2 separate regions of the Homo sapiens genome follow, and region 2 is linked to region 1. The links are contacts of gene promoters, found by promoter capture Hi-C in blood cells and fetal thymus (Javierre and others, 2016). All regions are on one chromosome and are shown on one strand. The core of a region is centred on a gene start or on the middle of the fragment in contact, and the rest is flanking DNA. Distances in the headings are between cores, read along the strand shown. Region 1 holds the start of ITK (IL2 inducible T cell kinase). Region 2 overlaps CYFIP2 (cytoplasmic FMR1 interacting protein 2).

Region 1 (7,142 bases), core at 2,694-5,193:
AACCTCCGCCTCCTGGGTTTAAAGCTATTCTCCTGCCTCAGTATCCCAAGTAGCTGGGACTACAGCCACCTGCCACCATGCCCAGCTAATTTTTGTATTTTCAGTAGAGACGGGGTTTCACCATGTTGGCCAGGCTGGTCTCAAACTCCTGACCTCAGGTGATCCACCCGCCTCGGCCTCCCAAAGTGCTGAGATTACAGACGTGAGCCACCGCGCCCAGCCCCTTTTTCTTTGCTTAACTTTTTATTATGGAAATTTTCAAACGTGCATCGGTGCAAGGAGAGTAGAATAATGATGTACCCATTAGCCAGCTTTAGCAATTATCAAGTCATGGTCAAACAGTTTTCATCCCTTCCCCTACCAATTTCTCCCCCTCCACTGGATTATGATGAAGCAAATCATAAACATTTTATTGTTTTATCAATAATTCAGTGTATGTTTCTATACAAAATAAGGACTATTTTAACATGATAATAGTGCCATTATTACATCTTTTTTTTTTTTTTTTTTGAGATGGTGTCTTGCTCTGTTGCTCAGGCTGGAGTGCAGTGGTACCATCTCAGCTCACTGCAACCTCCGCCCTCCAGGTTCAAGCGATTCTCCTGCCTCAGTCTCCCAAGTAGCTGGAATTACAGGCACACAGCACGACACTCCACTGACTTTTGTATTTTTAGTAGAGACAGGATTTCACCATGTTGGCCAGGCTGGTCTCGAACTCCTGACCTCACGTGATCCGCCCACCTTAGCCTCCCAAAGTGCTGGGATTATAGGTGTGAGCCACCACACCCAGCCCATTATTACATCTTAAAAAATAACAAGTTTCTCAGTATTATCAAACATCTCTTTAACATTCAAATTTGTCTAATTGTCTCATAACGTCTTTATACAGTTGATTTGCTTAACTCTTAATCCAAAGTCCAAACATGCTCATATGTCTCTTAAAGTCTCTTTTAATCTAAGGGTTCCCCCTTTGATTTATTTGTTGTTTTGTTTTGCTTTTGTTTTTTGAGACAGAGTCTGGCTCTGTTACCCAGGCTGGAGTACAGTGCTGCAATCCCAGCTCACTGCAACCTCCACCCACTGGGCTCAAGTGATCCTCCCACTTCAGCCTCCCGAGTAGGCGGGACTACAGGTGTGTGCCACCATGCCTGGCTAATTTTTTGTAGAAAAAGGGTTTCACCATGTTGTTCAGGCTGGTCTTAAGCTCCTGGGCTCAAGCAATCCACCCCCTTGACCTCCCAAAGTGCTGGGCTTACAGGCATGAGCCACCGTGCCCTGCCCTCTATGACTTATTTGTTACTGATACTGAGTCATTTGTCCTTAGCATGTTTTGTATTCTGGACTCATCCAATTGCATCTCCACAGTGTCATTTGTCAGGTTCGTTTATCTCTTGTATTTCCTGTAAACTCGAATTTATATCTCGAAGTTTGATTAGATTTGTGTTTGATTTTGTTTTCTCTTGGCAAGACTCCCGAGTTGCCAGTTTTGTGTACTTCCTCTTGCTTCACCTCAGGAGACATACAATGTCTGGTTGTCCTTCTTTTAAGATTAATCAGTGTGTTACAGTGTTGTCAGCTTCATATGACAGTTATACATTTTCCTATTGGCTTTTTGCGTAATAATTTTAACAGCCATTGATGATCATTGCCTACATTTATTATTTCATTGGCATTGCAAAACGATAGTATTCTGTCACTCCTTCATTGATTAGTTTCTTGGAAAAAAAGAACTTCCTCATTAAATACTTGATCACTGAATTGAAAGATAATTCTTCAAGAAAAGCAAGCAATATGTTTTATTTTTTTCCTTTGTTTCCAGTTTTCAGAAAAACAAGTTGGTTCTTCAGCATCCTCCAAAAGTGATCAAAAGGTTGGGATGCTTTTTTCAATTCTCTTTTGAACTCATTGTTTTAACATTTTTGCTGTTCTTCAATTCATGGCAATTATTATTCCTTTTGATACTCAAATTGTTCCATCTTTGGCAAGTGGGAACTCCTTGAATTTGGCTCCTATGAAGTGAACTTTTTAAAACCAAAACAAACAAAGGGACTATTTGTTTTTGTTTATGTTTTCCTTAAAGTGAGAAAAAAATATTGAGCCTCCTAAGTTTGCATTTAAAAGTTGGCAAAGATGAGTCTCAGTTAGTGGGTTTGATGGCTCTATGAGAAAGAGAATAAAATTACTTACGATGACACTCCATGTAGACTGAGCAAACGAAAGACTCCTAAGTATTGCAACAGCTACTGATGATATTTTGTTTTCCCGGATGAGAACACTTTGTGAAGTCTATAACTCTTTTCATCTGAACCAAGCAGGTGTAAAATGTACTTTCCTCAGAGGAGTTTGTAGTCTAGTTTGAGAAGATAGCACTGTATTATCTAGGTTTGCTGGTAGTGACAGAAACCTCAAAATAACTGAGACTTAGAAAATAGATATTAAAAAATGTAATCCAGGGCTGGCATGGAAGATCCATGGTCACCAGGGTCCCAGGCTCTTTCTATCTTATACTCCATTGTCCTCAACATTCAATTTCCACCTCATGATACTAGATAGCTGCTTCAGCTCCAACTGTTACCTCAATATTCTAGTCACAAGGCAGGAGGAAAAGGGAAAGAAAAGGGGATGACAGATCCCACTAAGGAAATTTCCTAGAAGTTGTGCACACGACTTCTGCTACATTCAGTTGACCAGAAGACAGTCATACAACTACACCTAGCTACAAGGGAGGCTAAAATTTGTAGTCTTTATTCTTGCTGGCCAGATGCCCAGATAACTGTCAGGGATTCTGTTACTCTAGTAAGAAGGAGAGAGTAGCTATTTGGGAATAGTAGCAATCCCTACCTCAAGCCCATACTCAGAAAAAAAAAATACTATCTTGTTTGGGCAGTGTATTTCCACACATATGTCTTAAGAATCTCAGAATGGGGGAGGTAATTTAAAATATACCAGTACCGTACCCTCCTGGGTGTCTTGATTATGCTGGGGCATCCAGTATATGAAATAAAATTAGGCTGTTGTCTGGTAATTTACATTTAAAAATAAACATTGGAGAATTTCACTCCTATACAGCAATAATTATTATTTCATTTATTATTTATCCCTACCCACTACATGCAATATCTGCTTACACTAAAATCTCTTGATTATTAACATAGTAGAGGTAACTGTCACACATTATACTTCAACTATGTACTAACTCTAAGGTGACATGTATGACTAGCACCTACCATTCATAAGATGTATGGGATTCAGTCCTCCAAAGGACCCTCACAAGGAAGCTAAGGATCAGAGAAGTCATGGCTTGCTCAAAGAGAAACAGCATAGTAAGTGACAGAGCTGGGAATCCAACACAAGTTTGTCTGTTTTCAAAGCCCACATATACTTTGTTTATTATGCCATTCTGAAGGATTCACTTATTTTTCACTCTTCCACAAAACGTCAGGACAGAAAGGCAGTCATCTATATGTAGCATTGAGAAATTTCTATGGGCTTTAATTTAAATCTTAAAAACTAATAAACTTCAGCAACATATTTCTTCACTTTAATGTGTGAGGGTTTTGTGCTCATTACCTCTTTTAATTGTCCAACCCAATTTGGTGATGATCCATTCAACAAATTTTTCTTGAACATCTGTTTTATGTGTCAGGTACTGTGATGGTTGCTGAGTATATCATGGTAAGCAAAACCACACATTGTCCTTACTCCTTGTGCTACATGATTTAACTGCTGGATGGATTAAACCAGGAACTATAAAGATTAAACTGTAATCCTTACCACAATTTTGAGTTTACAGTTTTTCAAATATCATTTCAAGCCATTAGCAAAGGCTGTATGTATTTTTTACATATGCCTCCTCGTTTTGTGAATTTTGAAAGGATGTGGTTTCGGCCTTTGACATCAGAGGAGAAGCTCAGCTATGTTGGCTGAACGTTGATAGAAAGATAACGTTGAAGGCAAGTTGCCCTTGAGCAGCTCTCTGAAGATCAACTGCCTCCACATTGCATTCTTTGCCCCAAAACTCTTTCCTTTGGTTGTGCTAAGAGGTGATGCCCAAGGTGCACCACCTTTCAAGAACTGGATCATGAACAACTTTATCCTCCTGGAAGAACAGCTCATCAAGAAATCCCAACAAAAGAGAAGAACTTCTCCCTCGAACTTTAAAGTCCGCTTCTTTGTGTTAACCAAAGCCAGCCTGGCATACTTTGAAGATCGTCATGGGGTATGTGAGCAGTTTCATTTGTCTTTTTTCGCATAGCATTTTATGTTTGGACTGGGCTAATGCAAAAATATATACATAGCATAAAATAGAGCACAGGAAACACAAACATGCTTATTGTAACAACATAAAAAGTACAGTAAAAGTAATCAGAGGAGAATGCAGAGAGCAGTCAAGAGGTGAAATGGTGGTGCTAGGTGATTTCAGTTCTAAAAACTGTAAATTTAACATTCATCAGCTTTTTCCCCCTGCAAGGTTATGTTTGGTTTTTAAATTATGAATAACATTTTAGGTAGCAAGTATTATGATTCGATAAAACTTGAACTTTCTATGAAACATACTAAATTTAATGAAACATACTAAATTTAATGAAACATAGATTAATACAACACTAGCATTCAATGGGATGATCTACCCCAGCTTTCTTATTTTTTAGTGGAAGAAACTGGTGTTTAGAATGGTTAAGTTTTGGGTTCAGTGTTAACGTTTTCATGAATAACTCTGTTTGTCTCAATACTCGTCGCTAGCCTGATCTTGAAATAAGATTTCCCAGGCATTTAATTATCTAAAAGTTGTAAGGCACAATGGCAAACCTCTTCATCTCTTGATAGACTTCTTAGGACACCAGGGTTATTAAGAACAAAGTTTCTGCAGTGCAGACCAGCGGTTCTTACCCAGAAGGAGTATGGCTGCTTTGCTAGGTCAGTCTATCTCTTTATCTAAAAATAGTCTTGTGCTTCTTAACATCACTAATAACAAAAGCAACAGGAATAATCCTAATAATGTAGTTTGGTAGAAAAAGCATTGGACAAAGGGTCAGGAGACCAAACTCTACTTCTCAGTAGGTGATCCAGTCTGGGCAAATGTCTACCTCCTGTTTCAGGTTCTTTCTTCATAAAATGAAAAAACTGGAAATAACAACCTTCAAGATCCCTTTCTTCTTCAAAACTTCTTTGCTTTATGCAGTGGCTCTTGTTTAGCCCTATGCTGCAATTTTTCAAAGCATGTTTGATTTCTTACTGTATGGTTATATTATTTTTACATCATTAGTGGGGTAGGACAAGGATTATCACTTATATTTTACTGAAGGGAAAATAATATTAGGTGCCTGATGGTCACTTAGAAACAAAAGTGCTCCAGTTCTTTGTTGGAGTCTGACTTAGTAGGTGGTGGCATGAGTTTGGGATTCTTTGGTGTGCCAGGGTTTAAAGCACTTCATGAGATGGAGCTCCAGAGGAGGTCAGGCTGGGTATAGAGCCTATGGATGCCTCACTTTTTAAAGTTGCAGGTGTTGCATGTCTTTTGTGAATTAAAAAAATACAGAAAACAAAAAAGTTGCAGGCGAAATAGCTCTGCCTCTTTAGAAGTGAAAAGAATTGCTTGTCTTATTATCAGACTCTTACTGATAACAATTTACCAGTCAATCAGAAAACACATGGAATTACGTGCAAGTCCTCTTTGCTAGGTGGCCAGGAGCCCAGTTTGTGAACTTGGGGGATTTATCATGTAGAGCTAATAAATCGCATGGCATTACTCAATGCTTTTTTGTGAATGGAACATTTAAAGTTTTTGTTTCATATTGAAAGAACAGTCATGTACCTTTAAATATTTTTTTCAAAGTCCATTTTGCAGTTTTCACCAGTTCGTTTTTCTGATTCAACATAGTATCATCTCATTTAGTTAGTATTAATAATTCCTTAGCCCAACTGCTATTTGTGAACTGATTGTGAATTCAGCTCAATATTATTTGTAAGTAATCACAAAACCAGATGGCCTTAATTCAGAATATTATTGGTCATAATTTGCATGTAGACAAGGTTGTAAAATCACCCTACTTCTTTATCTGAGCATTATGGAAAATTTCAAGACAATTACTTCATTCTGGGGAGCCCTAGGCTACAGTTTCTAATTCTTCCATGTGAGATATAGAGAATACATGTCCAAACATCAAATTTCTTGTTTTCTAATGCCTTTTTTACTCTTATAAATAACATTTTAAAAGTATTTCTTTAATTATTTAATTATTATAGAAGTTTATTAATTAGAAATTTATCCAAGTTCCCTGAAAAAGGTAATATATGTGAATTATTATTGTTCATGTCTTAGGTATACTACATGGTTTCAGGCCACCAATTTGCACACAAGGCTGCATTAATATTACTCATAAGTAAATAACATTACACTTATGGGAAGAACATTTTCATTTTTAAATTAAAGGCTTCATTTTCAATCTGTAAAATGGGTGTGATAATAGTACCCATTTCATAGGAAGATGGCAAAGACTCAGAGGTATAATGTCTTTAGGCTGAACTTTTTGAAATTATTTGGCAGATCGAATATCAGATATTAGAAGTTTCAAACAATTCAACTTAATATATTAGGTACTTAGCATAGGCCCTGTCATCTGGTAAGCATCTAGTAAAAATTAACCATTATTTGTATCCCTTTCATGTCTCTACAGAAGCTAGCAGGCTGTCATAACAATTCATTTTCAAATTATGGGAGATATTCAAGGATTCTTCAAAGTCAAGCTAAGATCAGGGTCCTGGATTCCTTCTATTCTGTGGCTAAATATAAGTTTTGTGGGGTAGATATACATGCATTATGAGCTGTTTGGCCAGTTATTGCCCCTCTTAGGGTGTCGGGTGTCAGAGCTTCTTTTTCTCTTTTCTCATGTGTAAAATTATGATTCTTGCAGTTCTCATATTCTATGAATTTATAACACCATATGAAAAATAACCCTTCTACATACTCAAGAACATATTCTGTAATTCTAGAAATCAAGTATGTTTATTCTAACCTAAAAAATCATGCCTATTGTCATTATAATACTAATTGATTGAGGTTTTACTTTAACATGGTTTTAGTTCTGGTGTTCGATGCCTGTTTTTCCTGTTGAGATGTGCAAGTGTTTTCAGAGGGGCCA
Region 2 (7,142 bases), core at 2,453-4,952, 110 kb after region 1:
TGAAACCACCATAGGAGACCAGCCTTCTGCAGAGGGCAGATGAGGAAGTTACCTCTGGGCTCAGTGAGCCCTCACTGGATGCAGCATTTGCTGTTGTCATGGTACGTGATGGGAAGGTGTGTTTGAGAACTCAGTGAAATGTGAATCTAGTTAGCTGCACAGCAGCCAGTGAAGGCTCAGCCCCAGTCTGCCCTCCCAGCCTTGGGCCTAAGGCAGGTATTAGTCTCGGGGCAGCAGGACCTTAGGTATATTCTGCAGTTGTTTTAGTCCTTGGCAGCCCGTGGACCAAATTCTTGTGTTGATGGTCCTTTTCCCCCCTAATGTTAGACACTGTATTTCCTAACAAGCAAAGCAAACTCACTGACATTCACAGCAGAAATCCCAGCCCCAGGATCTCACAACTCCCTGGGATCGAAGGTGGTTAGGAAGGGATTCTCAGACAAGCACAGTGGCCCTTCTCTTTGTGTCCCTCTTAATCGTGTGTTTAGGGTTGGCTTTATTATTATTAATAATATTTTTCTGAAACTCAGCTTTTAGTGTTTTTGTTCACCTCTACTGTTAACGTTTTATTTTGCTTTGCTTTTTGCTTTATGTCTGCCTTTGTAACTCTCAATCCCTCTGTTCTCATTTCTCTGGGCTGATTTTTGTTCTCTTAAGGTTTTTGAGTGTAACATTAACTTCATTTAGTTCCACTTTTCTTTCAGCTAAATGTGTTGAAGACATGTATTAGTGCTTTCCATCTTTCATTTCTAAAGATCTTATCATTTCTATTTGAATTCCTCTTTAGTTATGAATGACCTTGAAGTATGTTTTATAAATTTTCAAAGGTATGGGATTTTATTGCTACAATTTGCATTATTGATTTCTAATTTCCTTGAATTATATTTAATAATAAGTGAATGTGACTTGTAGGCCATCATTTTTGAAGAAACTTGGGGGAACCTGATTTATAGCCTAAATCATGATTAGTTTTTAAGCAGTGTTTCACATATGTTTGGGGGGAAAAATGAGTATTCTGTTTGCTGGGTGCTGAGTTCTTAAAATAGGAATTAGCTCTAGTTGGGTAACTGTGCTGTTCAGATTCTCTTCAGCTTCTAATCCTGCCAAACATACTATCAAAGCAGCTGCGCTGTGCCAGGGTCTAAGACACAGAAATATCCATTTAGGGCTGATTTGTTTGATGTGGCTCACAAAACATACCCAGGTCAAGGAAGACAGTGGCTCCTCCATCTTTGCAAAGAAGGTTGATTTGCAGGAATTGAGTTATTTTAATCCCAGTTTAATTAGCCTAAAAACCCGGGCTCTGGTTTTCAGTTGATTATCTTGGCTGTCACGATCCTGGATAATTGTATTGCATGGTAATTTAAGAGTGGAACTCATAAATATCCTTATGAAGAACAAAAGGTGGAGAAACTAACCATGACCTATGTTCTCACATCCCACTTGAGGTCCCTCGCTTGTGGTCACGTGACTGTGTGGGCATCACATAATTTCTCTGAGCCTTGATTTTTCATCAGTTATATGGATAGGGTACCACCTTCCATGTTGATCACAGAGGGTGGTGGTGAGGCTCAACCAAGTGCACACAAAATACCTTGTTAGCCATAAAGAGATCCTGAGATGTAAAAGATACACATCGAGAGCACCTTGGGAAGAAGTGGTGAGTGGAAGTGGCCTCAATGCATTTTAACTCTCTTTATTCTCCCAAAGGATGCTGGTCATGGTGCGGTTAAGAGGAATTTTAGAGGCCCCTGAAATTCTCCACTGACCTTCTCTTCCTTCCCTTCAGTGCAGAATACAGAAACTGCAGCCATGACCACGCACGTCACCCTGGAAGATGCCCTGTCCAACGTGGACCTGCTTGAAGAGCTTCCCCTCCCCGACCAGCAGCCATGCATCGAGCCTCCACCTTCCTCCATCATGTACCAGGTAATGGAAATGGTAGATAGCACCAGGGGGCCCAGGAATTCTGGGGATCCCCTAAGAGAGTTTGCCCTAAGGCAGAGGGAAGGGGAGGTCTGCATCTAGAAGGTGAAAGGTTGTGAGCTGATGGAGTCCCTTGTGCGCTGGTAGAGCCGAGTATAAGGAACAGATTAGCTACTAAATGTGCCGCAGGACTGTTTCCCTCCCTCCCCCAGGGAAGTCTTGTTGATCTGCTTTGACCCCAAATACCTTCCAGGCTATTCTTGCTGCTGTACCAACCAAGGTTTTGGCAGCTCTGGCCTCATGAATTAAATATTGCAATTTAGAAACCCCAGAGCCTGCCTGGGTAATTACTTTTCCTTCATGCATGTGAGGAGGGCACTACAACACCTCATAGCAGCTCATGGCTCAGGGAAGCTGGTCACAGTTGTTTGCTTTTGCCTAAGAGAGCAAAGCTTGTGATAAACCACCATCAGATTGTTCCAAACTATGACCTATCAGGGCCGGGAGTCGGTATAGCCCCTTGTCTGGGTGTGCCAGGCCAGATGCCATGTTAAGAAAGGATATGCTAATTTGAAAGTCTTAGCTGTGTTTGACCTTTTGATAGTTCTCAGATTGCTACAGGAGACTAAATATAAATACATAATAAATTCTTAAATTTCATTCAGTAGATGTATGAAGTACATGCTTGAAGGTTCGGCCCATAAACTTCATTGATTCACATCTTCTAACCCAGATTAAAATTTTAATTATACAAATATCTTTTTTATTATAAGCAATACAGAAAAGTATACAAAAAAGTATACAAAAACATATAAATTTTTTCTATAACTATGCGGATATATACCTTTTTTACCAAATATACATATATATGTGTGTGTGTATATATATGCATATATATATACATATATTTTTTTTTTAACCAATAGAGAACCATACTATATTTATTGCTTTGTGAGTTGGCTTTTTAACTTAAAATTTATTATGGATATTTTTCCATGACAATACCACAATACTACCACATTAGGCTTAGCCACCTCATGGTACTTAAAAGTCCATTTATGGATATGCTATTTTATGTATATATATATATATATATATATATATTTAGCCTTTCACTGTTGATGGATATGTAGGTTGTTTACAGTTTGTTTTAATCACAAAAAACAGCCACAGTAATTATTCTTGTACCTATATATCCACACCCTTGGGTGAGTATTTCTGGAACTGCCGAATCAAAGCAATGCACATCTTAACTTTTAGCAGCTATTTGGGCTTGTGGAGTTTAAGCATCTGCTTCTGAAGCTCAGATGAGTGAACCTGATTACTGATGGGAAGCAGACGGCAGACCCTGTCATCACCAGCTCCTGCCCAGTGTGATTGAGAGTGGGACTTTGTGGGGAAGGGGCAAGATGAAAGGTGACGCAGCAGGAGGTTTCCACAGAGAGCTTGCGTTGTTTGTTGGCAGCAGTTTGCCCTCTGGACACCCAGCCAACTTGGAACTGTTTTCTAACAACCAAAATGTTCCTGTCCTCTAATTCCACAGGCTAACTTTGACACAAACTTTGAGGACAGGAATGCATTTGTCACGGGCATTGCAAGGTACATTGAGCAGGCTACAGTCCACTCCAGCATGGTAAGTCTCTGTGACCCACGTGTGCAGACATGCTCCCTGCTGGGCTGGCAGGGGCCGCGGGCAGCTTCTCACACCAGAGGCATGTGCTCAGCTACTCTAAGAACCCCCTGCCTCAGTCAGAATCATCTGCTTAAGCCCACTCTTACATTCTGCGCCATCCCCTGTCGGTGCCTAGAAACATACAGTTCCCCTTTATTGTCCAGCTTTGGGAATCCTACTCAACTGTTAGGGCCCAACTTAGTCTCCACTACTCACTTTCTTGAGCTCCTATAGCTTTTTGGGTTAACATGTGATTGGATCTTGCCTTGTTTATAGGTTAATGAATGTGTGGAATTTTGTCTCTTGAGCAGAGCAAAAGGTTCCTTGAAAAAGGGACATTGGCTTTGGTTTTGGAATAACAGTTACTCAAAAAAGCTGATGGCCTAAATCATTTGCAAATAGGGCCAGTTATTATTTTCTCTCTTAGAGTCTGATTCATCTGTGGAGGGCTCCTCCCCTTCTCTGTTGGGCTTCCATTGATTTTATTCTCATGCAGCACTGCAATTTAAAGAATTCCAAATTCCATGTTCATAGACCCTGCCTGTGGTTCCATAAACCCTGCCTGTGGCTCCATAGACCTTTGACACTATATGTCTTAGCTCGTTTTGTGATGCTATAACAAGGAAACTGCAGACTGGATAATTTATAATAAATAGAAGTTTAGGCTGAGTATGGTAGCTCATGCCCATAACCCCAGCACTTTGGGAGGCTGAGGTAGGAAGATCCCTTGAGCCCAGGAGTTCAAGACCAGCCTGGGCAACATGGCAAGACCCTGTCTCTACAAAAATTTTAAAAATTAGCCGGGTGAGGTGGCACACACCTATAGTCGCAGCTACGTGGGAGGCTCAGGTGGGAGGATTGCTTGAGCCCAGGAGGTTGAGGCTGCAGTGAGCCATGATCGTATCACTGCATTCCAGCCTGGGCAACAGAGCAAGACCCTATCTCAAAAAAATAAGAGTAGTGGCTTATTGGCTTATGATTATGGAGGCTGGAAAGTCCAAGATTGAGGGGGCAGTATCTGGTGAGAGCCTTCTTACTGTATCATATCATGGCAGAAGCCATGACATGGGTGGCAGAGAAAGGGAAGGGGTCCAAACTCATCCTTTATGAGGAACCCACCCCCATAATAACAGCATTAATTCTTTCATGGGGGTAGAGCCCTCATGACCTGATCACCTGTTAAAGATCCCACCTCTCAACACTGTTGCACTGGAGATTTAAGTTTCTAACACATGAACTTTGGGGAACACACTCCAACCACAGCACTGTATTGGTTATCTCCCGTAACCTTGTGTTGACAAACCCTGCTCATTCATTCAATAAGTATTGTGTGGCTGGTGCCCTCAGAGGACTGTGTAAATGCTGGAGAGGTATGCAAGGGCAGATAGGGGCCAGTCCTGATCCTCAGTGAGTCAAGTGGGAAATAGATAAGCTTACCATTTATCGAATGCTTTTTCTATACAGATATTTTAGATGCATTGTCTCATTTGCTCCTGACATCAACCCTGTGAGGTAGGTTCTATTATCATATCCATTTTGCCGATGGGGAAAACTGGAGCCCAAAAAAATTGCATAACTTACTCAGGGTCCTGCAGCTGACAAGTGACAGCTCTAGATCAAGGTCTGCCTGACTACAAAACCTTTGCTCCAGACTATGCCTTGCAGACAAACAAAAATACACGAAGTTAAGGGTAAATGTCATGGTAAAAGTTCAAAGTTCTGTGTTTTTGAAGGAACCTTGAGAGAGTCAGAGAAAGCTTGATGTAGGAAGTGGCTTTTGTGTGAGGCCTTGTAGGAGGATAATGATACCTTGTAGATACAGTATACTTTAAAATATATGTAAGGCATTTTCATATATTATATTATTGGAGCTTTATAACAGCCCTGTGACTTGCAAAGGGATCATTATATCCATTTTAGGGATGAGAAAACTGAGGCCTAGAAAAGTTAATAAGCAGGTTGCTCATGATCCCACAACCAGTAAATCACAGGACTGGACCTGAAATCCAGGACTGATTGCCAGTCCTGATCTCTTTCTCCTGTTCCGTGCTGTCTCACACAGTTAGAATTTTACCAGTCAGAGATGAGACGGGGAGAGCACACCATGTGGAAGAGCTGGTGTGAGCAAAGGCACAGGGCAAGGATTTTCGAGGAGTGACTGGTATGGACTGTAAAGTGCATATAGGGATATTGTTTACAGATTCCCTACAAATAAAGGGTCGGGGCATAGAGGGTGTATTCGTTGGCTTGGATACCTTAACAAAGTGCCACAGACTAAATGGCTTAAACAGCAAAAATGTATTTCCTCCCCGTTCCGGAGATTAGAAGTCCAAGATCAAGGTGTCTGTAGGTTCGGTTTTTCCTCAGACTTTTTTCCTTGGCTCCCAGATGGCTGTTTCTCTCTGCATCCTCACATGGTCTCTTCTCTGTGTGCACACATCTCTGGCACCTTCTTTCTGTGTGTCCAGATTTCCTCTTTTTATAAGGACACCAGTCAGATTAGATCAGGGCCCTCTCTAATGGCCTCATTTTAACTTAATTACCTCTTTAAAGGCCCCGTCTCCAAATACAGTCACATTCTGAGGTCCTGTGGGGTTAGGGCTTCAACCTATAAATTTGGGGGGCACACAATTCAGCCCATAACAGAAGGCTTTAGTTTATTTAATAAAAAATTAAAAACAATGGAAAAATCTTTATCCTTAAAAGAGATATGAACAGAACGCAGCTTGGGGGACAGATTCCATGTGTTAGTCATATGTAGAATGAGTTGCAAGTAGGAATGAGGCAAATAAATTAGTCAAGATAATTAAAGTTATCTACACTGCAGGCATTCAAGGCTGAATGAGGGTGATGGCACTGGGGTACAGCTAAGAGGATATGGATGTGAGGGACACTGGCTTAGCAGTCACCTGGGACTGCACTGACTGAGTTCCCAGGAAGACCAGGTCAAGACACCAACAGAGCAGTCGGAAGGAGGGGTTAGGTTGGAGAGTGATAGTGTTCATTTTCTGTTACTGCCCTAATAGAGTGTCACAAACTTAGTGGCTTAGAAGAACACTGATTTATTTGCTTATAGTTTTGTAGGTCAGAAGTCTGACGTGGGTCTTACTGAGTTAAAATCAGGGTGCCAGCAGGGCCGCATTCCTTCTGCAGGCTCCAGGAGAAAGTCTGTTCCCTTGCCTTTTCCAGCTTCTAGAGGTGTCTACATTCCTTGACTCGTGGCCCCCAGCCAGCAGTGACATCACTCTGATCTCTGCCTGCATCTTCAAATCTCCTTCTCTGACTCTTCTGCCTCCCTCTTTTGCTTATGAGTACCTTGTGTTTACACTGGGCTCCCCAGGATAATCCAGAACAACCACCACCACCCGCCTACCCCCATTGCAAGGCTCTTAATTGGTCACATCAGCAAATTGCCTCTTTCCATGTGAAGGAACATATTCACAGGCACCAGGGATTAGGATACAGACATCTTGGGGGGACCATTATTCTGCCTACACAGGGAGAGTGTTGATGTGGCTTAGGCATGAGTCATGAGTGGCATGCA

Evidence for each region. The method cuts DNA at HindIII sites, captures the fragments that hold promoters and counts their contacts. A CHiCAGO score of 5 or more calls a contact.
Region 2: a fragment that was not itself captured here is called in contact with the fragment with the promoter of ITK in region 1 in 8 of 17 cell types (non-activated CD4 T cells, activated CD4 T cells, naive CD8 T cells and 5 more); the score reaches 23.5 in non-activated CD4 T cells.

What each region holds. Positions count from the first base shown.
Region 1 is chr5:157,176,897-157,184,038 of GRCh38, forward strand. It overlaps ITK (IL2 inducible T cell kinase), which reads left to right and starts at 3,944. Exons shown (of 17, transcript NM_005546.4): 1 at 3,944-4,219. The coding sequence starts at 4,082. The HindIII fragment of the contact is 39,229 bases long and covers 1-7,142 here.
Region 2 is chr5:157,283,550-157,290,691 of GRCh38, forward strand. It overlaps CYFIP2 (cytoplasmic FMR1 interacting protein 2), which reads left to right. Exons shown (of 31, transcript NM_001037333.3): 2 at 1,790-1,929; 3 at 3,470-3,559. The coding sequence starts at 1,813. Among named protein-coding and RNA genes, the nearest start is that of CYFIP2, 21 kb to the left of the region's middle. RefSeq lists enhancers at 3,090-3,590, 3,591-4,091. The HindIII fragment of the contact is 2,652 bases long and covers 2,377-5,028 here.